Regions from separate parts of the Homo sapiens genome. Here all the other regions are linked to region 3. Evidence: promoter capture Hi-C in human tissues and cell types (Jung and others, 2019). All regions are on one chromosome and are shown on one strand. Each heading gives the region's core, a stretch centred on a gene start or on the middle of the fragment in contact. The rest is flanking DNA. Distances are from core to core; before and after follow the strand shown. Region 1 holds the start of FAM227A (family with sequence similarity 227 member A). Region 2 overlaps NPTXR (neuronal pentraxin receptor). Region 3 holds the start of APOBEC3H (apolipoprotein B mRNA editing enzyme catalytic subunit 3H). Region 4 overlaps GTPBP1 (GTP binding protein 1). Region 5 overlaps SUN2 (Sad1 and UNC84 domain containing 2). Region 6 holds the start of DNAL4 (dynein axonemal light chain 4). Region 7 holds the start of ATF4 (activating transcription factor 4).

Evidence for each region. Contacts are between HindIII fragments. The study calls those that stand out against the background at their distance.
Region 1: the fragment with the promoter of FAM227A here is called in contact with the fragment with the promoter of APOBEC3H in region 3 in 1 of the 25 tissues and cell types used here (mesenchymal stem cells).
Region 2: a fragment that was not itself captured here is called in contact with the fragment with the promoter of APOBEC3H in region 3 in 5 of the 25 tissues and cell types used here (IMR-90 fibroblasts, adrenal gland, pancreas and 2 more).
Region 4: a fragment that was not itself captured here is called in contact with the fragment with the promoter of APOBEC3H in region 3 in 2 of the 25 tissues and cell types used here (heart left ventricle and heart right ventricle).
Region 5: a fragment that was not itself captured here is called in contact with the fragment with the promoter of APOBEC3H in region 3 in 1 of the 25 tissues and cell types used here (bladder).
Region 6: a contact is called between the fragment with the promoter of DNAL4 here and the fragment with the promoter of APOBEC3H in region 3, in 12 of the 25 tissues and cell types used here (IMR-90 fibroblasts, adrenal gland, bladder and 9 more).
Region 7: the fragment with the promoter of ATF4 here is called in contact with the fragment with the promoter of APOBEC3H in region 3 in 2 of the 25 tissues and cell types used here (heart right ventricle and mesendoderm cells).

What each region holds. Positions count from the first base shown.
Region 1 is chr22:38,655,041-38,658,661 of GRCh38, reverse strand. It overlaps FAM227A (family with sequence similarity 227 member A), which reads left to right and starts at 2,270. Exons shown (of 17, transcript NM_001013647.2): 1 at 2,270-2,542. CBY1 (chibby 1, beta catenin antagonist) reads right to left here and starts at 2,024. Exons shown (of 5, transcript NM_015373.4): 1 at 1,912-2,024. The HindIII fragment of the contact is 5,432 bases long and covers 1,337-3,621 here.
Region 2 is chr22:38,831,783-38,835,412 of GRCh38, reverse strand. All of the region lies in intron 1 of NPTXR (neuronal pentraxin receptor), which reads left to right. Among named protein-coding and RNA genes, the nearest start is that of NPTXR, 10 kb to the left of the region's middle. The HindIII fragment of the contact is 5,879 bases long and covers 1-3,630 here.
Region 3 is chr22:39,095,610-39,099,246 of GRCh38, reverse strand. APOBEC3H (apolipoprotein B mRNA editing enzyme catalytic subunit 3H) reads right to left here and starts at 2,003. Exons shown (of 5, transcript NM_181773.5): 1 at 1,904-2,003. RefSeq lists enhancers at 585-1,471, 1,802-2,141, 1,472-2,359, 1,682-2,881. The HindIII fragment of the contact is 18,686 bases long and covers 1-3,637 here.
Region 4 is chr22:38,720,524-38,723,859 of GRCh38, reverse strand. GTPBP1 (GTP binding protein 1) reads right to left here. Exons shown (of 12, transcript NM_004286.5): 5 at 1,995-2,118. It also overlaps the pseudogene PRDX3P1. Among named protein-coding and RNA genes, the nearest start is that of GTPBP1, 16 kb to the right of the region's middle. The HindIII fragment of the contact is 3,539 bases long and covers 257-3,336 here.
Region 5 is chr22:38,746,488-38,749,679 of GRCh38, reverse strand. SUN2 (Sad1 and UNC84 domain containing 2) reads left to right here. Exons shown (of 18, transcript NM_015374.3): 7 at 897-967. Among named protein-coding and RNA genes, the nearest start is that of SUN2, 7.9 kb to the left of the region's middle. The HindIII fragment of the contact is 3,105 bases long and covers 1-2,802 here.
Region 6 is chr22:38,792,149-38,795,678 of GRCh38, reverse strand. DNAL4 (dynein axonemal light chain 4) reads left to right here and starts at 1,536. Exons shown (of 4, transcript NM_005740.3): 1 at 1,536-1,611. RefSeq lists a silencer at 1,345-1,794. The HindIII fragment of the contact is 13,707 bases long and covers 1-3,530 here.
Region 7 is chr22:39,519,047-39,522,608 of GRCh38, reverse strand. It overlaps ATF4 (activating transcription factor 4), which reads right to left and starts at 2,047. Exons shown (of 3, transcript NM_182810.3): 1 at 1,858-2,047; 2 at 938-1,255; 3 at 1-836. The coding sequence starts at 1,163. The coding sequence ends at 7. RefSeq lists enhancers at 1,570-1,619, 1,980-2,129 and a silencer at 2,510-2,709. The HindIII fragment of the contact is 4,198 bases long and covers 666-3,562 here.

The sequences.
Region 1 (3,621 bases), core at 1,021-3,520, 440 kb after region 3:
TACTAAAAATACAAAAAATTAGCCTGGCATGGTGGCAGGAGCCTGTAGTCCCATCTATTCGTAGTCCCAGCTACTCAGAAGGCTGAGGCAGGACAATGGTGTGAACCCAGGAGGCAGAGCTTGCAGTGAGCCGAGATCGCACCACTGCACTCCAGCCTGGGCAACAGAGTCAGACTCCATCTCAAAAAAAAATAAAATAAAATAAAGTAATATATGTGTGTATTAAAAAAAAGAAAGAGGCCAGGTACGGTGGCTTATGCCTGTAATCCCAGCACTTTGGGAGGCCGAGTTGGGCAGATCACGAGGTCAAGAGATCGAGACTATCCTGGCCAACATGGTGAAACCCTGTTTCTACTAAAAATACAAAAATTAGTCGGGTGTGGTGGTGTGCGCCAGTTGTCCCAGATACTCAGGAGGCTGAGGCAGGATAATTGCTTGAACCCAGGAGGCAGAGGTTGCAGTGAGCTGAAATTGCACCACTGCTTTCTAGCCTGGGTGACAGAACAAGACCCCATCTCAAAGAAAAAAAAAATAGAAAAGAAAGAAAGAGATCTGGAAGGATACACCAAACTGTTCATAGTGGTTAAACCTGAAAAAGGGAATAGGATGACTGACTTGAATGAACTTGTCATTTTATAGGTTAAAAAAAGGTCAAATTGTGACAATTTCATATGGTACAATATAAAATTATATTAAATATACTCGAGATTTAATGAATTATTACAATGAGAATATATTCATGTATTACTTATGAACAAAATAAACAAAACACAGTTAAGAAGCAGCCCCCAGCATGCCTAAAATCTAGAGACATTTGAAGAAGGAGAAATAAGTCAAGTCCCCACTGATGCTAACTGCACTGGGCCTGAGCACATGGGCTGGACACAACAAGTTTAGGGGCCTGGCTCTCCCCTTCAGTTGCCTGCTAGACCTTGGCCCAGCTGCTTTACTTCTCGGGCTTTAACTGGGCACCTTACTCATGACCGCACTAATTCTCATAACACTACAGCTGGGAGCTGTCATCCATGTATTACAGATGAGGAAGGGTCTGGATTAGCTACCTTTTAAGTCAGATCTAATAATCCACAAACAGCTCAGCTGAGATCCTGGGATTCTGGGGCATCCGCGTGCACTTGAGATACAAGCTGTCCCACTGGCCCATGGCAACCTTCTTTCTAGTGAAACTCCCAGGGCGAGCGTGCTCCGCACACAGGAAGTGAAGGGGGAGCACCTGGCTTCCAATGATCACTCTGCGGCTCACCCACAGTGGGACCCCAGCATTTATCCCCCTTGGACTTCGGCTTCTTTCTTTGCACTGAGGAATAATAATAGTACCTGGCTCACAAGATGTTATAGTGTTTTAGTGTTTATAGGAAGCTGTGCACTTGATCCTCACAACGACCCTGGGAAGAGGATCGAGTAAGTAGAGCCTTCCCAGTCCACAGATACTGATACTAATCACTAATCATTGTGTAAAGGTTTTCCGTTTGCAACAGGCCATAAAATATATTATCTTACTTTAATTCTAAGAAAACAAGGGCGGAATCTCTGGTTTTCATCGGATTCTCAAAGATATACGTGTCCCCCAAGGAGTTCAGAGGTAGCCATGTTACGCAGATGCACGGCCCCCAGGGCTGTCGGACTCAAGTAACAGCTGTCAACAAACGTTCACACGCACGATCTCATGCAATCATCTTCACGGCGACCTACGGGGAGGAATTACCGCCCCAATTCACAACCGCGGAGACACACAGAGGAGGGCGGCCACCGCCCGGGGTCGCCCGGCCTCCGTCCCCTTCCCCAGGCCCTCCTGAAGCCTCTCTCCAGGCGAGGCCCGGACGTCCTACTCAGCTCGGGCCCCCGAGTGAACCCAGGCAGCGCTGGCCGGCGACGCCGGACTCGGAGACGTACCTGACGCGTCCCAGAAGCCGGGGTCCAAGCGCTCCCCGAACCCCCAGCAAGGACTCTGTAGCCCAGAGTTACCTTGACCCACCCGCCTCCTGCCGCCTGCCCGCCACGCGCATGCGCTGCCCCGCCCGGCCTCTACCACCGAGGAAAGGGGTAACCGGCGCGGGGGTTCCCAGCGCCAGCCTGCGCCAATCCCCAGAAACTCCGTGAATCACCTCGGGATAGCAAACGGATTATACAAAGGCAGTGTCTTCTGGGGTCCTTTTCATGCCTCTAGGACCAGGACCTGCATTCACCCTCTCCACTGACACATTGGTCTGGGCCCCCGGCCCGGCTGTCACCATAGAAACGGCATCTCGCGGACAACGCGGCGGCTCACGAAGGTTCCATTGTTATGCTAAACGGGAAAGTGGAGACCGCGCCGGCGTTGCCTAGAGAACGCCTGGACTCAGAGTAGCAAAATGGGCCTCTCCCCAACTCCCCTCCTCATCCCCCAGCACAAGGCAAAGGGCACCCCTTGCTGTGAGTTTGGGGGCACCGGCTGTCGGGGGCCGACCCAGAACTTTGCGGGGTCCCCTGAGGGACCCGTGGCGGGACCGGCCCCGGGTTCGTCAAATTCCGCCGATGCTTTCAGGTAAGACGGACGGACAGACGCACCATGACCCACCTCTGGCAGCCTGCCCCCTCCCCGTGCCGTTATGGCGGCTTCTACAAGCAAGGGAAGCTGAGGCCCAGGGACTACTTAAAGGTTGCATTGTGAGGAAGGGACAGAGAACTACTGGAGAATCAACTCCAGATCTCCTAGAGTCCTAAAAGCGTGTGTTATTGGTTCCGTCTGATAAGTGCAGAAACTTAGGCCGTTCAAGGAGTTTACCGGCTGCCTAGTGGGTGTATCAGGGCATCCAGTGAGGGGCAGGACCCAGGGGTCTTTGACTCCAAGCGCAGTTCTCTTCCAACTACACCACCCTGCATTAAAAGAGGGGAGACTTCCATGTCCTAGAACTAAAATCTTCACAATCTGGCTTAGCATTGTGCAATAGAAACATAAAGCAGGCCACATATGTGATTTGGAATTTTCTAGTAGCCACATTTTTTAAAAAGTAAAAAAGAAAGCCAAGTGAAATTAATTTGAGTAATGTTTTAAACTCCATATGTCCAAAACATTACTATTTCAAGATATAATCAGTATTTCTAAATTTGCACTGCTTCCATTTAAAAATTTAATTTTTTTTTTTTTTAAGACAGAGTCTCACTCTGTTGCCCAGGCTGGGATTGCAGTGGCATGATCTCGGCCTCCCGGGTTCAAGCGATTCTGCTGTGTTCACCTCCCAAGTAGCTGGAATTACAGGCACCCACCACCATGCCCGGCTAATTTTTTGTATTTTTAGTAGAGATGGCGTTTCACCATGTTGGCCAGGCTGGTCTCGAACTCCTGACCTCAGGTGATCTGCTTGACTCGGCCTCCCAAAGTGCTGGTATTACAGGTGCGGGCCACTGCGCCTGGCCAAAATTTGAATTAATTAAAATTAAAATTTTACTCTTGGCTGTTCTATCTATGGAGTAGCCATTCTTTTATTGCTTTACTTTAAAAAAATTTTACTTTTTTTTTTTTTCGAGACAGAGTCTCGCTCTGTCGCCCAGGCTGGAGTGCAGTGGCATGATCTTGGCTCACTGCAACCTCCGACTCCTGGGTTCACGCCATTCTCCTGCCTC
Region 2 (3,630 bases), core at 874-3,373, 260 kb after region 3:
TTGCCCACCACTCACCTGTTCCCCACCTGGGTAGGAGGAGGCGGAGCCACCTGCTGGGTCTGTCCCTGGAGAGGAAGGCAGGGTGGCAGTATGGGGTTTCTCTGAGAAGGCTTCCTGACCCCAAACTTCCACCTTGGCAAGAGCTGGTGGCCTGGCCATCCCAGAACAGCCTCTGCCTCACCGCCAGCTGGGAGCACCGCCAGCTGGGAGCACCGCCACCTGCGGAACCATGGGGCCATATTTGCCTTTGGGGCCACAGCACCTGGCACTTGGCAAGAGGCAGCAGGGGTGAGCTCACCCTCTGCACCAGGCCTGTCAAGGGCCTTACAATTGAATCCCACAAGAACTATGGTACTATTACTATCTCTGTTTTACAGATGAGGAAACTGAGGCTCAGAAAGTTTCAGAAGCTTGTCCAGCTCACTCAGCTGGCATTTCCACCCAGGCAGTCTGGCTCCAGGGCCTGCACCATGACACATTATGCTCTCCTGCCTCTCAATAACAGCAAAGAATAATAGTAATGTGACAACCACGTACTGCCTCTTATGGTTGACCACACTTCATATCTGTTCTTTCATTTTATCATTATTTATATCCCCAAATGTAGGTACTATTATTACACCCATTTTACAGATAAGGTAACTGAGGGCCAGAGGAGTTAAGCAGCTTGCCCAAGGTCGCAGATCTAGTAAGCAAGGAACTGAAAATGACGCTGGCCTGTCTAACGTGACAGTTCGTGTCTGCAACTACGACGCCATGTTGCTGCGGCACACATGGATGGATGGATGGATGGATGGATGGATGGATGGATGATGGATGGATGGATGGATGGATGAGTGCTCTGCAGCCCTGCCAGAGAAGCTCTCAGGGCCCTCTTCTCTCTCTATAGAGCATCTCAGTTCAGGCATCAGGGAAGCTGCCATCTGGAGGATGAGCAGGCAATGGGCAGAGGAGGGGTGGGGGCGGGAAGAATGTTCTTGGAGAAGGAACAGCATGTGTGGAGGCCTTAGGGTGAGAAGGAGTTTGGGGCAGTTGAGCAGCAGAGGACTTTCAGTGGGCGTGACCTATGTCCTGTCGGGGTAAGGGCTGAAGCCAGGAGGACAGGGACTTTATTGGCAGGGAGACGGGGCTGTGGAAGGATTTTAAGCAGGAGAGCAACATGGCTGGATTTGCCTCTGGCCGCTGTGTGGAGGGTGGGAGTGGAAGCTGTGGCACAGTCCAGCGGAGAGTAGCCAGGACTAGGGAGAAGGCTAGGAGCTGAGTGAAGCTCTGGGCGAGACGCAGGTTTAGATTCAAGCATTAGAGACACCACTTCATGAAGCTCTGGGTAAGAAGCAGGGTTAGATTCAACCACTAGAGATGCCACTTTAGGATTGTTTTCCTGTTTTTAAAAGAAAATCATGTCAAGTATTTCAGATGGGCAAAAAGGCATAAATACTACTACCCAGGCCCCTGCCCAGGCTCAAGAACCAAACGTTTCCAATCAGCTGATCCCCATCACAAGGTCAGGAGATGGAGACCATCCTGGCTAACACAGTGAAACCCCATCTCTACTAAAAATACAAAAAATTAGCTGGGTGAGGTGGCAGGCGCCTGTAGTCCCAGCTACTCGGGAGGCTGAGGCAGGAGAATGGCGTGAACCCCAGGGGGGCGGAGCCTGCAGTGAGCCGAGATCGTGCCACTGCACTCCAGCCTGGGCAACAGCGAGACTCTGTCTCAAAAAAAAAAGAAACTCCATCGCAAAAAAAAAAAAAAAATTGTTAGTCACGACATTAATAGTAGACACGCCTGTGATGCTTCCTATGCCTACCGCGCACTAAGCGCTTTCTGTCTATGAACTCAGTCAATCCTCACCACGATGCTATGAGATTTACTCTTTTACCCTTTGGGGCCAATGGGGAAACTGAGGCATGGCACCGTTACATAACAAGGCCACTCAGCTGGTGAAGCCCAGGTGTGAGCCCTAGCAGGACTCAGAACTCAGGGGATGGTTGGATGGGGGAGGTGAGGGGCCGTGGTCCACACTGCTCCCCCTGAAGGCTGCTCACTTTCCACCTGGTCCTGGTGCCCCTGCAGTCTGCCCCTGGTGAGGGAGGTGGGGTGGCAGGATGGGGTTTCTCTGAGAAAGCTTTCTGACCCCAAACTCCCACCGTTGCAAAACCTGGTGGTCTGGCCGTCCCAGAACAGCCTCTGCCTCACTGCCAGCTGGGAGTACCACTACCTGGGTGATCCTGGGCAGGGGCAGTGGTGCAGAGGGTGGGACCCTGACCCTCAACAGACCCAGACCAGCAGTGTAGGCCTGAGGAATGAGCACAGTCTGTGGGCTGTGCAGAGGATGGGACTCTGGCCCTGGAGTCCTGCACCTGCCTTCTGCTCCCTGCAGCAAGGGAATAGACCCCGGGTGGGGCTAAGGTGATGGGGTTTCCCTGCATCCTCCCAGCCTCAGCCACCCCACGCTGGCAGGACCCTCCTATCAGTCTCCCTTTGTGAAGCTGCCCTGCGCCATAGTCTCACACAACCTTCTGGATCTTCTAGACTTCCCGTGGCCATTAGTACCTCTCCTGCTTGCCTTCGAGTTAGGCAGGGCAACCAGCACTGTGCCCACTTGGCAGATCAACCAACAGACCCAGACCATCAGTGTGAGCCTGAGGAATGAGCACAGATTTCAGGATCAGGAAGGCCAGGCTGGAGTGCTGGCTCTGCAGCGTCACAGGTATGTGACCTTAGACAGGCACTGAGCCTCAGTTCCCTCATCTCTGAGTGGGCCTCCCTACTTCCCCAGGCTGTTGAGAGCAGCCTAGAACTGTTTGCACAGATCTTCCCTAGTGCGGGGCCTGGCATGCAGCGAGTGCTCGATGGAGACAGCTGCTGCCGTTAGCATTCTGATTGAGTGCTAATGAGCCCAGCACATTATGGCTGAGCCAGGCCTAGAACAAGGGGCTCTGGCTCTAGGCCCAGCACACTTACGCCAAACCCCACCCCGGACTCCCAGCGGGACAGGCCATGGGTTCCCAGCCTCCACCTTTCTGCCCCAGCAGGAGCTGAGTGGGGGTGCTGGCGTCATCATTCCCTCCATCATCTTAGGTGAGGGGCCCAGTTGGCATCGGGCCGGGAGCCCACGCGGCACAGCCTGCGCCCACAGCAGATGGGAAGTGGGGGTGCGGGAGTCGTGTTCTTCTGATTCAGACACTGGGACGGGGAGGGACTCACACACGATCCGGCGAGCCCACCTCCTCCATGGCCTTCCTGGCCGCTGCAGAGCCAGTGGCTCTGACAAAAGAACAGCTTGAGCGCACACCCCCTCAGCCCGCACGTTTTCTCCTCCAAACAGCGTCTGTTTAAATAGCCTCGACTCCCTGTTCTTGCTGGCAGATCTTCCTCCCTCTGTTCTTCCTGGCAAGTCTTCCTCCCTCTCTCCCTTTGCTGGAGAGAGGAGATGCTGGCTCCAGGGGTATCGGTTTGGCCCAGCCCCATTGCTATAGACAATTCAAAACGACTCCTGCCTTGGTTTCCCATCTGTGAAATGGGGATACGAAGAGTGCCAGCCTCAGCGAGCAGCTGCGAGGATTCATGAGTAAACACATGCCAAGTGCCTATGATGGGCCCGGTGCACAGCCTCACTCCCGCATG
Region 3 (3,637 bases), core at 754-3,253:
TTCAATTTTGGATTTTGCTTTTTTTTTGTTTTTGAGAGAGAGTCTTGCTCTGTTGCCCAGGCTGGAGTGCAGTGGTCCAATCTCAGCTCACTGCAAGCTCCACCTACCAGGTTCAAGTGATTCTCCCGGGTTCAAGCAATTCTCCTGCCTCAGCCTCCCAAGTAGCTGGAATTACAAGCGCCCTCCTTCATGCCCGGCTAATTTTTGTATTTTTGTAGAGATGGAGTTTTACCATGTTGGCCAGGCTGGTCTTGAACTCCTTTGACCTCAGGTGATCCACCCACCTCGGCCTCCCAAAGTGCTGGGATTATAGGCGTGAGCCACCGCGCCCCGCCAGGATTGTGACCCATGCGCTCACCTCCTGTCTCCCCGAGGGCCTGAGCTCCTTTTCTTTGGCCTGTCTGATTGATGGTTGCCCATCTACTTTCTATTCTGCTTTCTGGAAAACCCCTGAGCATTTCAAGCCTCCAAGTCCTGAGAATTTCTGCAGCTTTCCCAAGCAGGAAGACCAGGGAGAGGAGAAGAGAAGGAGATGCTGGCAGGGGCAGCAGGGCCGGGGTGACCTCTCCCAGCTCAGGGCCCTAGCTCTGGTCTTTCCAGGGATGGATCTCCCATCCTCCCAGTATTTCTGCCACCCATCCTCTAACCCATTAAAAATAAGAAAAGTGAATAAAATTCTCCCCTTCAAAATAAGAGCTCTTAATATTTCAGTTCAATTAATTCCTGGCATTTTACCTATTCATGTTATTTTATTTTATTTTTTTAGTTTTAGTAGATAAGGGGGTCTCCCTGTGTTGCCCAGGCTGGTTTGGAACTCCTGGCCTTTAGTGATGATCCTCCCCTCTCAGCTTCCCAAAGTGTTGGGATTACAGGCATGAGCCATTTTGCCTGGCCAGGCAGGAAAATGGCGTGAACCCAGGAGGTGGAGCTTGTAGTGAGCCGAGATTGCGCTCCAGCCTGGGCAACAGACTGAGACACCCCTTCTCAAAAAAACAAAACGAAACAAAAAATCAGGGTAGCACTTCCATCCCCAGGCCCAGGCCACTCTTCTAAGTGCTGAGAGGATCTGAGCTCACGTGAGGCTGCCCTAGGCCTGCAGGGGCCATTCTCATCTTACAGAGGAGGGGCCAGAGGTGCAGAGAGGTGGGGTAACCTGCCCAGGCCATGGAGCTGGGCCACTTTCCTGGCCAGCCCTGCCAGCCTCTGCATCACGGGCCCTGCAGGAGGGAGCCTTTGGGAACCAGGCTCTCTTCTTCCTAAATTTTAAAATAAAAGCATTTCTCCTGATCATTGAGTTTTTCCGTATATTCCGTGTTACTGGTGTCATTATAAACGGTGAATGTGAATACTGATCATGGAGGAGGAGTGTGTGTTCAGGGTCATCTGCATCCTCCTCTGCCCACAGTGGAGACATCCTTGGAAGAGATGATTTGCCTTGTGCTTCAGAGATCATTGCCTCCCCACACCCTCTCCTAAGACTTTGTATTGAAACAAAGTAATCTTACACAAAGTTCATCAAAGCACTGTGAACAAAATTCCAGATTGCTCCCATCATCCTTTAGTTCAGTTCTCCCAGTTCCAGAGCCCAGGAATGGCAGGAAGCACACAGAGAGAGCACCCTCCCAAGGTGGGGAGCACTAGCCCAGCCATGACTCTTAGGGGAGAGTCTCAGCAGGGGTCTTGGGCTGGTGCAGGCCGGGGAGGCGGCCCGTTCAGAAGCAGCAGTGGGGTGACCACACAGCAGGGCAAAGAGCCTGGGTGGGAGTGGGGATGGCAGGGGAGCCAGAGGAGAAGGAGCCCAGGGCTGGGGCTGGGGCAGCGGGAGGCCAGGGCTGAGGCACAGAAGGGCTGCCAGGCAGGAAGTGGCAGCAGAGGGCCCAGTGGACAGAGTGGGCGGCAGTACCTGATCTGTGCTTCTGGCCACAGCTTCCTTAGCAGACTTGCCCCTGCTTGTCTGAGGCACTAAGTTTCACTTTTGGCAGCTCTCCCAAAAGTCACAAAAGGTCAGCTCTCCCAAAAGTCACAAAAAGTCACTGCTTGATGAGGGTGGCTCCACCCTCTTCCTTTTGTGGGACTGGAGTGGGAGGGCCCTGGGGTGCTTCAGATCCCTCAGGCTCCTTTCTTTCTCTATTTCCTCGGGCTTGGCAGGGGAAGTCTGATGGAGGTGGCTCACCTCCCATCCTCCCACCCCCAATTCCCTCTCCAGGTACAGCCAGACTCAACTCCCTCCCCAGGTATAGTTTACAAAAGAACAAAGGCCAGATGCGGTGGCTCACACCTGTAATCCGAACACTTTGGGAGGCTGAGGTGGGCAAATTACAAGGTAAGGAGATGAAGACCATCCTGGCCAACATGGTGAAACCCCGTCTCTGCTAAAATACAAAAAATTAGCCAGGTTTGGTGGCCTGCGCCTGTAGTTCCAGCTGCTTGGGAGGCTGAGGCAGGGAAATTGCTTGAACCTTGGAGGCAGAGGTTGCAGTGAGCCGACGTCGCACCACTGCACTCCACCCTGGCAACAGAACGAGACCCTGTCTCAAAAAATAAATAAATAAATAAAAATAAAAAAGAAAGAAAAAAGAAAGGAATTGATGGCTGGTCACGGTGCCTGTTATCCCAGCACTTTGGGAGGCTGAGGCAGGTGGATTGCCTGAAGTCAGGAGTTCAAAATCAACCTGGCCAACCGCACTCCAGCCTGGGCAATAAGAACAAAACTCCGTCTCAAAAACTAAACTAAACTAAAATAAATGAAAGGAATAGAAGCCACAGAAAGGAGCAGGGATCCAGACCAGGGCTGACACCATAGACCAGATGCCACTCCCCTGGTGGACAGGGCAGGCTGCAGCCCCCTCCCCACCACCCCACTGACCTTTGGCATTCAGCCTCCTGGCAGGACCCTGAGCCTGATGTGAAATGAGCACTGGGGTCAGGCTCAGGACTGCATCTCCAGCGGATCCAGTGCCCATTATCTAGCCCAGTCCCCAGATAGCACTGGGAGGGGAGGGCAGTGATCCTGACAGTCAGAGGAGGTCCCAAGCACAGAGAGGCTAAGATACTGTCCCCACGTCACACAGCAAATCAACAGCAGAGCTGGAGTGCTGGCCAGGACTTCCTGTGTCCCTTCTCCCCCACAGCTAGCTACTTTGAGGTTCTTCATTGCTCCATGGAAAGGAGCAGGAGAGGAGACACGAGGGAGGGGACTTACTGCTCCTAAAGGGCCTCCCAGGTCAGAGATGAAGGACCTGGACTTCACATTTGCATTCTGGAACCCATGTCCTCGTCTTCATGCATATCAACCAACACCCTTCAGATCATAAACACCAAAGAGCCAGGCCAGGTGCTGTGGCTCACGCCTGTAATCCCAGCACTTCGGGAGGCTCAGGCAGGCTGATGACCTGAGGTCAGGAGTTCGAGACCAGCCTGGGCAACACGGTGAAACCTCGTCTCTACTAAAAATACAAAAATTAGCCAGGCGTGGTGGCGGGCATCTGTAATCCCAGCTACTCAGGAGTCTGAAGCAGGGGAATCATTCGAACCTGGGAGGCAGAGGTTGCAGCGAGCCGAGATTGTGCCACTGCACTCTAGCCTGGTCGACAAGAACGGGACTCTGTCTAAAAGAAAAGAAAAAGAAAAACCAAAG
Region 4 (3,336 bases), core at 777-3,276, 380 kb after region 3:
CTACAATCTTTAGCAGTGAGGGAGAAAGGCATGAAGGCTTAGTCCTGCAACCCTGTGTCAAAGCTTTGGTGGCAAAAGGTAATCAGACCCTCTGTCCAAACTTCCCCGTATATATCCAGCTTAGCTGGTAGAGCCCAACTCCTTCTGCCTGGGGTCACCTGAAAAGAGGTGCCAGATTCAGGATCTCAAGATTTCTGCATTTGGAACCAGAAGGAACAAGGAAGAGGATAATTCTAGGCTGTGTTCAGACCAAGAACTAAATAGGGGAGGAAGTAGCAGAAGATTCTGGGCTGATGGAAATTCAGGCCAAGACCTAAGTACAAGACAAAGGAAGTTTCGCCCGCGTGCACTGAAGATGGTAGCTGCTGTGGGAAGGCTACTCTGAGCATCGGCTGCCCGACATGTGAGTGCCATTCCTTGGGGCATTTCTGCCACTGCAGCCCTCAAGCTTGCTGCTTCTGGAAGAACGAGCTTGACAAACATATTATGGTCTGGTTCCAGTCAAGCAAAATTCTTTAGCACCAGCTCCTCATACCATGCACCTGCTGTCGCCCAGCATGCACCCTATTTTAAGGGTACAGCCATTGTCAATGGAGAGTTCAAAGACCTAAGCCTTGATGACTTTAAGGGGAAATAATTTGGTGCTTTTCTTCTATCCTTTGGATTTCACCTTCGTGGTCCTACAGAAACTGTTGCTTTTAGTGACAAAGCTAAGGAATTTCATGATGTGAACTGTGAAGTTGTGGTCTCAGTGGATTCCCACTTTAGTCATCTTGCCTGGATAAATACACCAAGAAATAATGGTGGTTTGGACCACATGAACATCCCACTCTTGTCAGATTTGAGCAAACTTCCTGAGACTACGGTGTGCTGTTAGAAGGTTCTGGTCTTGCACTAAGAGGTCTCTTCATAACTGACCCCAATGGAGTCATCAAGCACTTGAGCGTCAATGACCTCCCAGTGGGCCGAAGCGTGGAAGAAACCCTCCACTTGGTGAAGGCGTTCCAGTATGTAGAAACCCATGGAGAAGTCTGCCCAGCAAACTGGACACTGGATTCTCCTACAATCAAGCCAAATCCAGCTGCTTCCAAAGAGTACTTTCAGAAGGTAAATCAGTAGATCACCCATGTGTATCTGCACCTTCTCACCCCAGAGAAGAAACACAGTTGAAGCCTGCTTTTATCATTTTATAGATGATTATCTGTAGAAGGCAAGGAACCAATTATGCTTGTACTCATAAATATTACTCTAAATGGCTAAGGCCTTTTAAACATGGTTAGTTGCTAGTATAAGGAATCCTTTATTGGTAACATCTTGGTGGCTAGCTAGTTTCTACAGAATATAATTCGCCTCTGTAGAAGGCAATTCTTAGATCACATCTTCAGTAGAAACACTCTTCTGTCTTAGCCTTACTTGAAGCTTGCCTACAACAAAGTGGAGCAACACACATTGAAAGCTTCTGATCAAGGGTCCTGAAATTTTCATCTTGAATGTCTTTGTATTAAGCTGAATTTTCTTTTAAGCTAACAAAGATCACAGCTTTCAATTGTTATCAGCAGTCAAATTTAACTCCTGCAATGAATGTTTATGTGATTGAAGCAAATGTGAATATTATTTTAAAAAGTGGCAGAGTGACTTAACTGATCATGCATGATCCCTCATGCTTGAAATTTATAGTTTACCTAGTCATTTTACTTATTTTATTCATTAGCTAACTTTGTCTACATATATTTCTAGATACTGACCAGTGTAACGGATTATAAAGGATAGTTATTGGATCCAGGGATTGCATTTTGAAATTATTATAATTATTTTCTTTGCTGAAGTGTTCAATGTAGAGCACATAATAAAAATAAACATATTGTAAAATAAAAAAATAAAAATAAAAAAGAAAAGAAGTTTCTGGGCTAAAGCCGTGGTAGCAGACCACCTGAAGGCACAGCAGGTGACAGCCCCAATCAGAGGGGCTGCTGCTAGCTGGAGGCTTCACTTACCTTGCAGGATGTTGGCAGGACACATGTCAATCTTGGTGACTACCACAAAGACAGGTACATTGAGTGCCAGTGCCAAGCCCAGGTGTTCTTTGGTCATCCCCACGATGCCAGCATTGCTGCCCACCTGCCCCAACACAGAAAGGAAGTGTCAGGACGAGAGAGAAAGAGATTGCTGCTGGGTGGACACAGGGGCTCAAAAGCAGATGTGGATGAAAGCTGGGCTGGGCAAAAATCACGTTAACCCCTGACTCGATGATGTGGGGCGTCAAAATCGGAGGAGACTTGCAAACAATAAAAAAGATAAACCCAGTCAGGGAAACAACTGTCCTGAGCCATCAAAATGAATCCAAGTCAGGAGCAGTGGCTCATGCCTGTAACCCCAGCACTTTGGGAGGCCAAGGAAGGCAGATCACTTGAGGCCAGGAGTTTGAGACCAGGCAGGACAACCTGGTAAGACCTCCGTCTCTACAAAAAAATACAAAAATTAAGGCTGGGCACGGTGGCTCACTCCTGTAACCCCAGCACTTTGCGAGGTCAAGGCAGGCGGATCACCTGAGGTCGGGAGTTCGCGACCAGCCTGAACAACATGGAGAAACCCTGTCTCTACTAAAATACAAAATTAGCCAGGCGTGGTGGCACATGCCTGTAATCCCAGCTACTCAGGAGGCTGAGGCAGGAAAATCGCTTGAATCTGGGAGGTGGAGGTTGTGGTGAGCCGAGATCGTGCCATTGCACTCCAGCCTGGGCAACAAGAGCGAAACTCTGTTTCCCCCACCCTACAAAAAAAAGAAAAATTGACTGGGTGTGGCAGGATACGCTGTAGTCTCAGCTACTTGGGAGGCTGAGGTGGGAGGATCACTTGAGCCTGGGAGGTTGTGGCTGCAGTGAGCCATGATCGAGCTACTGCACTCTAGCCTGGGTGACAGAGCGAGACTGTGTCTCATAAACAACAACAACAAAAAGTGGATTCAACTTAACATCACTGGCCCTCAGTTTCCCCATCTGTAAAATGGGGAGATAACAATATCCACTTCAGAGGGTCACTTGATGTTTAAATGTCACAACACACATGAAGTGTCCAGCACACAACTAGCAGGAACTAGGTGTTTAAGCAATTGCACCTGTTATTACTATTACTATCCTTCCAGTAACAATAAATGTTTCCAAATATCACCGTAAGGACTGGTTACATAAATCAGGGCACGTGTATGAAATGTGCTGTACAAAAGAAGAAATTTTTATCTACTGATATGGACTAATCTCCAAAATATGCTTTTAAGGGGAAAAAAAAAGTAAGTTGCATATAGAATGCTATCATAAAAAGAGGTGAGTGTTCAGCTAT
Region 5 (3,192 bases), core at 1-2,500, 350 kb after region 3:
CTCTGAGGGTTTTCCCCAGTTTCCCTGGAGCCTTTATTAGCGATCACGGAGTAGCTTCCCCAAAGCCCACCCCTGCCTGACAGAGGATGGACTCAGAGTCAGGTTCTTCTCCCCGAATTGATAGCCCTTCGAGGCAGGATTCCAGAGCACAGATTATTTCTTCTTGGACACATTCTACTAAACGCCACACTAGTCTAGCCGTGCCTGGCTCTCAGACACACGATGGCTTTCCTCCTGCAGGGTAGGCCCACTGACTCCAGGCAAGAAGTGGGGTTTCCCAGAAAGTCCATCTTCCTTCTTGGGCCTGGGACAATCTAACCCCCCGAGTTCCCCACTCATGGTCAGAGCCACAAAGAGGCTCTGCCTGAGGATGCTATGGGTTCATTCCCCAAGTCCCTAAACCAGCAGAACCAGGATTTGAGAATGTGCCCCTTAGGCAGAAGAACACGGAACCCAGAAGTCAGGATCCCTCTGGCCGTAATCCAGGTCCGGGCAGAGGGGACAGCTGGCCATACTGAAACAAGGGGCAAGGATGGGTTTGTGTCACCAAAAACAGGTTCCTTGTTGTTATTTAAGGAGTTACTTTTTTTTTCTATATTTGCATACTTAGAGGACCTGTCCATATAAAAATTTTTGAGTTTTTCAAAGACCACACTATTTTTAATAACATCAGTAAAATTCAGTCAAAATTGTCCCATCACTCTAAGACCTGCCCAGCAGGAAAGGCTCTGACGTGTCCAGGCTGGCCCTGGCACAGTGAGAAGCTCAAGCTATCCTCCTTAGCTCTAGTTCAGCACCCAGGAAAACATCTCAGGGTACTCCCTGGGTGGAACGTGGAGGCCTGGAGCTCCCCTCACACCTCCGCCTCCCCCGTCCTGCCCTCCCGCGTGGTCCAGGCGCTTCTCGTCCCTGAAGACGTTCCTCTGGTTCCTGCTGCCGCTGCTCTTGCTGACGTGCCTGACGTATGGTGAGCCTGCATGGGGAGAGCAGAGGGAGGCACAGAGATGTGTTCACCAGAGGGTGGTGACCTTTGGCAGGCAGGGAAGGGGCAAGACTGGGTGGGGTGTGCCTGTGACTGGGCAGGGCCTGAGCCCTGGACCCTGGATCATCTCTGCATGGCCCTCCCCACCTCTCCTGAGCCTCTTTTGTGCCGCCCTGGGCAGGAGCACACCCTAGTGCCGCAACATTGGGTGAAAAGCGGGATGCCCTCCCATTATCATTAGCAGTCATCCTCCTTCCACTCCAACAGGGACATCTGCTATGAGGGAGTTATTTTTACAAGATGAAGTTAAATCTTGAGCTGTCTTTAAAGTAAAAACAATGAAGCAGCAAAGGGAAATAAGTGCCTTTTTTGTTTGTTTTTTGAGACAGAGTTTTTGCTCTTGTTGCCCAGGCTGGAGTGCAATGGCGCGATGTCAGCTCACCACAACCTCCACCTCTCAGGTTCAAGTGATTCTCCTGCCTCAGCCTCCCGAGTAGCTGGGATTACAGGCATGCGCCAACATGCCCAGCTAATTTTGTATTTTTACTAGAGATGGGGTTTCTCCATGTTGTCAGGCTGGTCTCGAACTCCTGACCTCAGGTGATCCAGCTGCCTCGGCCTCCCAAAGTGCTGGGATTACAGGCATGAGCCACCGTGCCCGGCCATAAGTGCCTCTTTTTACACCAGTCACTTACCAGCTGTCCTGAATCATCCCAGGCGCTAGCACAGGCCTGCCTTGGTTTTTTGTTTGTTTTGAGACAAAGTCTTCTTCTGTCACCCCAGCTGAAGTGCAGTGGCACGAACACAGCTCACTGCAGCCTTGACCTTCTGAGCTCAGGTGATCCTCCCACGTCAGCCTCCCAAGTAGCTGGGATTACAGGCATGCAGCACCACACATGGCTAATTTTTGTATTTTTAGTAGAGACGGGGTTTCACCATGTTGGCCAGGCTGGTCTCAAACTCCTGACCTCAAGTGATCCACCCACCTCGGCCTCCCAAAGTGTCGGGATTACAGGTGTGAGCCACTGCACCCAGCCCTTCCTTGTTTATATAGACATTTTGTGTTCAGCTTTTTACTTGACAGCTTGGCTAGTTTCATATGAATTGCCTATGTGACTCTCAGCTCAATTTTAATGACTGCACCAAGTAATTAAAGACCATGCTTTATTATTTTTTGAGAGTTTGTTTTATAAGCTTAATATCATTCAACTTGTATTTCTTTTATTAATAACAGGGTAGAACACTTTTCCAAAAGTTAGCTTCGTTTTTGTGTTTGCTGCTACAAGAACAGCTGGTTCATATCCAGTGGCAACTGAGCACCACCCTTAAAATAATAATGATTCTTCTTCTTTTTTTTTTTTTTTTTGAGACGGAGTTTTGCTCTGTTGCCCAGGCTCGAGTGCTGTGGCACAATCTTGGCTCACTGCAACCTCCACCTCCCGGGTTCAAGCGATTCTCCTGCCTCAGCCTCCCGAGTAGCTGGGATTACAGGTGCATGCCACCACGCCCAGCTAATTTTTATATTTTTAGTAGAGACGGGGTTTCGCCATGTTGGCCAGTCTGGTCTCAAACTCCTGACCTCAAGTGATCCACCTGCCTCGGCCTCCCGAAGTGCTGGCATTACAGGTGTGAGCCACCACGCCCAGTCAGTGATTCTTTTTTGTGTGTGTGTGATGGAGTCTGTCGCCCAGGCTGGAGTGCAGTCGTGCGATCTTGACTCACTGCAAGCTCCACCTCCCAGGTTCACGCCATTCTCCTGCCTCAGCCTCCCGAGTAGCTGGGACTACAGGCGGCCGCCACCACGCCTGGCTAATTTCTTTTTGTATTTTTAGTAGAGATGGGGTGTCACCATATTAGCCAGGATGGTCTCGATCTCCTGACCTCGTGATCCACCCGCCTCGGCCTCCCAAAGTGCTGGGATTACAGGCGTGAGCCACCGCGCCCGGCCCAGTCAGTGATTCTTTATAATTGCATAGCAATGTACCCAGAGAGCACTTTCCCGTGCATTATCTCAGTTCAATTTGAGCTTCACCATGGCCTTGTGGGGTTGCTGTAGTCAGTGCTGTGAACCCATCACATGGAGATGCACGTGGAGGGGGCTCAGTGACCTGCTCGGGGAGTGTGTGCATGAAGGCCATGTCCATGCTGGACTTCAAGCCCCATGGGCATGAGCTTCCTTTTGCACCTGCCAACCTCTGGTGCTTGAGTAG
Region 6 (3,530 bases), core at 287-2,786, 300 kb after region 3:
TGGGTCGGGGGTGGTGCCATTTACTGGAATGGGGAATGCAGGAAGAGCAGATTGGAGGGAGATGATCAATTCAGTTTGGGACACACTGAGTTTGAAGGGCTTGTGGAACATTCTGGTGCACATGGCTAGGAGGCAGTTGAATATGCTACCCAAGCATTCAGGGATCAGAGGTTTTAAAGATAATTTTGTGGGTAGGGGCTTGGCAAGCGAGGAGTGTTGATTGATTAAGTCGAAGATGGAATACTGAGGGGGTCGAAGTGAGGTTTTCTTGCTGTCTTCTGTTCCTGGGTGGGATCACAGAACTGTTTGAGCCACATTACTGGTCTGGGTGGTGTCAGCTGATCCATCGAGCGCAGGGTCTGCAAAATATCTCAAGCGCTGATCTTAGGTTTTACAATAGTGATGTTATCCCCAGGAGCAATTTGGGAAGGTTCAGACTCTTGCAGCCAGAGGCTGCTGTGTGACCCCTAAACCATAATTTCTAATGTTGTAGCTAATTTGTTAGTCCTACAAAGGCAGACTGGTCCCAAGGCAGGAAGGGAGCCTTTTTGGGAAAGGGCTATTGTCAATTTTGTTTCAGAGTAAAACTATAAACTAAATTCCTTCCCAAGGTTCGTTCAGCCTATGCCTAGGAATGAACAAAGACAGCTTAAAGGCTAGAAAGGCAAGATGGAGTGGGTTAGGTCTGATCTCTTTCACTGTCATAATTTCCTCAGTTATAATTTTGGCAAAGACAGCTTCAATGCTAGTAAATGTGGCAGTGGGGTTTCACCCCAAGTACTCATCACAATAATAAAGGTTTAAACTACGAAGTACCCAACTGACCCTTTGATCTACCAATCAAATAATAGAATCCGCCAGTTCTTCCCCTTTCCCCTTTTCCTTCTCCGTACTTTCGGATTAATTTTCCCTCCCAAGGGGAAGAAAAGGCAGGCTCTGGGCAACTGTGTCTGAAATTAGGTGGTACAAATGTCTCCTAGTGACTAGAGCTAGGTGACCATACAAGGGTGTGGCACAGAGGAAGGAGCCCCTGGGTTCCTTCTCCAGGGAGATTACCTCCATCCTTTACCAAGTTACTTAACCTCTCTGAACTTTAGTTCAGATGGGATGACGAATATTATCACCTAAAAGTACTGTAATGAGAATCAAGTGAGATATTAATTGTACAGCCCTACAAAAATGCTAGTTATTATCAGGCTTTTCAGATCCCAATAAAGTAGTGGCTAAGTGTCACGACACCAACAAGTTGCATTTGTTATTTCAAGTGACTAAAAGAACCTCCCAAGGCAGTACTGCTTTTCGAAGTTTGTTTCCCTAGAAAAAGAACTTCAATGTGTCCCCTGCTCCTCGGGCACGCTTAAGACAACTATAAGTGAAGTCCCGCCTCCCTGGCCTCTAAACCACGCCCCTGTCCTTGCAAACGCCTGACTTATAAGGGCCTTTCACTCTGATTGATACTTTTATCCACCAATAATAAGTGAAATTCTCGTCAACGTCCGGTGAGGGGGCAGGACTTCCTTGCTGGTTGCTAAGACACTCTTGTTTCGCTCCTTGACAACCCTGGCGGGGGTTCGCTGGCTGCGGCCCCGGCTCCGGCCCCCGCAGGAGCAGGTGAGGCCCCGGGGCGCGGCGGGCAGCCAGGCGGGGAGGGCCGGCCCGGAGGGAGGGCGGGAGGCAACGCAGGGCGGAAGAGGCCTCGCCCGCCGCCGAGGCCCCACCTCGGTCTCCTGCCTGCTGTTCCCCTGCCCCAGGTCTTCCCATCCTCAACCCCCACCCTCACCCCCACTTCGGGACCTGCGAGCTCTGTCGTGACAGGTTTGCCATCGCGACTCTGCCGGCTGCTCTTCCCCACCCACCCAAGGCCTGCCCAGCTTCGTGGTCCCGCGTCCCCCTTTAGCCGACTTCCCCCAGCACCTTGATCCCTCGACCTTTCGCGGAGTAATTCCCTCTCCCGCGGGGTCGCCATCAACTAGGTCAGACCGCTCTTGGCTTGGAGAGTTGGCGACTTACTGGGATTCTGGGCTGGTCATTTCCCCTGTTTGGGCCTCAGTTTCCCCATCTGTAAATGAGAAGTTGAGTTGAGTGATCTCTAAGGCCTCTTCCACTCTGACGTTCTAGGATGTCGTTGTTCTTTGACCCAACTTTAGGCTTCCGAGAGGATGTGCTCCCCAATGGGAGGTATCGTGTATTGTGAAAATAACTTGGCAAACCTAATTTGGATTCCCAGTCTCAAGACCTACCCTCCCTGCGCTTTTAATCAGTGCATATGTAAAATCAGTATACGTCGGTGCATCTCCTTTGGTAATTCTGAGGCTAATATGAAGTACAGAGTCCAGTCCAGTATAGATTCAGTATTTGTTAGTTTCTTTCCTTTGTCTCTTCACCACATTTTCCCTCTCTGGGAAATGTTATCAACCCGGTCAGCATGAACTGTCATTTCTCCAGTTGACCCTCTCTGATCTTCCTCCTGGGCTTCCATGGTTAGGGTTACTTAGGGGTGGGGAGGGGACAGATGGAGATTGAAATACAGTCATGTACCATATAACAACGTTTTGGTCAAGAAAGACCACAGATACCACGGTGGTGCCCTAAGGTTATAATGGAGCTGACAAATTTCTATCACCTAGTTACATAGCTATCGTAATGTCAAAGCAAAATGCATGACTCACGTGTGTGGTGATGCTGGTGTAAGCAAACCTACAGTGCTGCCAGTCATATAAAATATAGCACATACAATTGTGTACAGGACATCATACTTGATAATGGTAATAAATGACTGTTACTTGTTTATGTGTTTACTATCCTACACTTTTATTGTTATTTTACAGTGTACACTCCTCCTACTTATAAGAAAATAAAATTTAACCGTAAACAGTCTTAGATAGGTCCTTCAGGAGGTATTCAAGCAAAAGGCTTTGTTATCATAGGAGATGACAGCTCCATGCGTGTTATTGCCCTGAAGACCGTCCAGCGGGACAAGATGTGGTAGTGGAAGATAGTGACACTAAGCATCCTGACCCTGTGTAGGCTTAGGCTAGTGTATCTGTGTCTGAGTTTTAACAAAAAAGTTAAAAATGTTAAAAATAAAAAATAAAGGCCAGGAGCGGTGGCTCACGCCTATTAATCCCAGCACTTCGGGAGGCCGACACAGGCAGATCACCTGAGGTCAAGAGTTTGAGACTAGCCTGGCCAACATGGTAAAACCTGTCCCTACTAAAAATACAAAAAATTAGCCAGACGTGGTAGCGGGCACCTGTAATCCCAGCTACTCAGGAGGCTGAGACAGGAGAATGGCGTGAACCCGGGAGGTGGAGGTTTCAGTGCGCCGAGATAGCGCCATTGCGCTCAAGCCTGGGCAACAAGAGTAAAACTTTGTCTCAAAAAAAAAAAAGTAAAAAAGAAATAGAAAATTTATAAGTAGAAAAAAGCTTATAGAATAAAGATATAAAGAAAGAAAATATTTTTGTATAGCTGTACAATGTGTTTGTGTTTTAAGCTAAGTGTTACTACGAAAGAGTCAAAAAGTTAAC
Region 7 (3,562 bases), core at 798-3,297, 420 kb before region 3:
CCTCAACTAGGGGACCCTTTTCTTCCCCCTTGCCTTGCGGACCTCTTCTATCAAATCTTTCAGGTACTGGATCTCCTTGGCCAGGGAATCCGCCCTCTCTTTTAGAGCCTCGTTCTTCTTTTCCAGCTCTTTGCACTCACCAGTAAGAGCCTCCTGCTCCGCCCTCTTCTTCTGGCGGTACCTAGTGGCTGCTGTCTTGTTTTGCTCCATTTTTTTCAGCTTCTTATCCAGTTTCTCACCCTTTACTTTTGCTGCTACCATCTTCTCTCCAGGAGGATCGTAAGGTTTGGGACGGGCAGACCCACAGAGAACACCTGGAGATGGGAGGCTCCTATTTGGAGAGCCCCTGGTAGAGGGGCTGTGCTGAGGAGACCCCAGATAGGACTCTGGGCTCATACAGATGCCACTATCATTATCTGAAGGGGTGTCTTCCTCCTTTATGCACTGAGGGATCATGGCAACGTAAGCAGTGTAGTCTGGCTTCCTATCTCCTTCAGTGATATCCACTTCACTGCCCAGCTCTAAACTAAAGGAATGATCTGGAGTGGAGGACAGGACCCCTGGGGAAAGGGGAAGAGGTTGTAAGAAGGTGAAGGGGGCAACCTGGTCGGGTTTTGTTAAACTTTCTGGGAGATGGCCAATTGGGTTCACCGTCTGGGGGGGCTGCTTATTAGTCTCCTGGACTAGGGGGGCAAAGAGATCACAAGTGTCATCCAACGTGGTCAGAAGGTCATCTGGCATGGTTTCCAGGTCATCTATACCCAACAGGGCATCCAAGTCGAACTCCTTCAAATCCATTTTCTCCAACATCCAATCTGTCCCGGAGAAGGCATCCTCTGCAAAACATTTGAGTGATGGGGCCAAGTGAGTCAGATACAAAGGTAGGAGGCCCCTAACCCTAGATCCCACCAGGACGATGTGGTGGTGGCCCACTCACCCTTGCTGTTGTTGGAGGGACTGACCAACCCATCCACAGCCAGCCATTCGGAGGAGCCCGCCTTAGCCTTGTCGCTGGAGAACCCATGAGGTTTGAAGTGCTTGGCCACCTCCAGGTAATCATCTAAGAGACCTAGGCTTTCTTCAGCCCCCAAACCCGACTGGTCGAAGGGGGACATCAAGTCCCCCACCAACACCTCGCTGCTCAGGAAGCTCATTTCGGTCATGTTGCGGTGCTTTGCTGGAATCGAGGAATGTGCTTAATTCGAAGGTGTCTTTGTCGGTTACAGCAACGCTGCTGCTGAATGCCGTGAGAAGCCTGAATGAGAATCAGAAGCCAACTCCCATTAGAGGTTAGCTGTTCTGAGAATTTCATCCTTCCACTTATGAGGCGGGACTTCTCTAGATCGGCCATCTAGAGAATCGGGAACAGGGCAGTTGTATTTGCCCCTCCCTGCTTGCAACTCAGGTTCCACAAAATGGACGCTCACGGAGACCAGGGGATTCTTCCACCGGCCGCCAAGAGGAAAGCGCTCCGTCCCCACGTCCAAATACGGCCAGGGCGGCCGCGCCCCGCCCACCGCCCGCCCTTGACTCACGCCCGCGCCGCCGCCCTGCCGCCGCCATCTTGGTTCCTGCCACGTTTCGTGGGGCAACAGCCAAGACCCCTGGGACCCTTGCGGGGCTCGGGGTCCGAGGGCTGTAGGGCTCCTGGGGAAGCAGTCCGGGCACCCGACTACGCTTTCCCGATCCCAGGCACGCGAGCGTCTCGGGGACACCCAAGCAAAGACCACGCGTCCCGGGCGCTCGTTAAATCGCTTCCCCCTTGGCGGCACCGCCCTGGCCCCAGGCCGCACCCCACCAATCCAAAACCCGCGCCGGCCCCAGGAGCACAGCTGGACGACCCGCCCCGGTACTCACGCCATGGCTTAAGCCGCTGGGGGTTGCCGCTGCAGAGCCTGGTGCTGCTGCCGCCGCTGCAAAGGCCAATGCTGCCGCAGGCACTGCTGCCCCTAATACGCCATGGTGGCCGTGGACCCTGAGGGCGGGGAGGAGGGAAAACGCACACGCGCAGAGAAAACTACATCTGTGGGCGGGCAAAGTAGAAATGGCTGCCGTGGCCGCCCGCCGGCCCTTTATAGACTTCGTCTCTATGGGGACGCAGCACAGACGCATCCTTCCGCCGCGACCACGTGACCGTCTCCTCCCGCCCGCTCCCTTCCCTCCCTCCCTTTGACGCCCCAACCGTTTATGCCCAGGGCGTAGCTGTGACGAGAAAAGGAGTTTGTTCTTATGGCCTCACGAAAGGAGAGAGGTGTACTACTTTACTAGGCTTCTATGATCAGAGTCCGTTCTTTCCTTCGCCGCCGGAGCGCGGAGTGATCTCCCAGACACGCCTCGCTTCCGGTGTCAGCGCAGTGGGCGGGGAAAGGTCGTTTTCCGGCGAAGAGTTTTTATTGTGAAGGCCGAGGACGCCAGGTTATCGCGCGAGGTGCTGGCGAAGAGCGCGCGTCAAGGTGATTGGCCCAGGCCCGGTGAATCATATATATCTCGAGCTCTTATTGGCTCAGGGCCCTAGATGGGCGGCTGCTGGGAGAGGGATCCCGGGGTCCGCGTGGGAAGGGTTGGGGTCTCGGGTCGCTGCTAGTCCTCAGCCAGCCCCGCCTGCTGGCCCGCCACGATCGCGCTGGCTCCTGCCCCCAGGCGGCCTTAGCCCAGCGCACCCCTTAGTGGCCTCAGGGACCAGCCCTTGCGGTCGGATCCCGCCGCCCTCAGTGGAGGTCCGCACTGGTGGCCCCGCCGCCGCTCCCAGCCTGCGCGTCCTTCGGTTGCGGGTGGTGATTTGTGGCCTGCGGAAACCGGGGGGTTACCTGTTCCAAGCCTGAGTTTTCCAGAGGCCCCATTCATAGCCGACACGGCGCTGCTGCCCCCGGGAGGTTGAAGGGGCCTCGAGAGGGCGCGCCGGGCCTGTCCACCTACCCCCAAAGGCCGGCTGAGTCTGCATGGCTCCTCCTAAACTCTGGAAAGGAGCCGGGAAGACGCGCCGTCCTGTCGCCCAACCTGGGTTTTTACAATTTTCATCCGGCTCAAGTGCAAGGCTGCCACAGAATAGCATCATAGAGGAACTTCTGGTGTCCGAAGATTGCGTTCTCCTAAGAACAAGATTTTCTTCGCTGCCGTCTCCCTGGGGTAGTTCGGATTCACTCCGGATTCTGAACTCCCCGGCCTAACCCGCTTTTCAGCAGTCACGCCCATGGCCCAGGGAGGAGAGGCGCTTGGGAACCCACGGCCACTTACTGGGGGTTGTGCGTTGGGAAGGGGTAGTCTGTTTTAAGAATACAAGAAACCTCCCCATCATCCTTCAGCCCCTTCCAGTCAGGCCCTGTGAAGGTGGAAACTTTGAGTTTCCGCCTCCATTTCACTGGGCCACACAAGTATGAGCGCTGTGATATCAAACAACCAGGGAAGCACTGCTCTAAATAACCACAGGCCATCTGCTGCGCTCATTCAACCTCGCCCACAAATCCTTTCCAATGGTAAACCGAGGCCCAATGGGATGAAGCTTCTTGCTCAAAGTCACAAGGCTCCCAGTGGAGGGAGTATGGGGTAGGAGTTAGAAGACAGA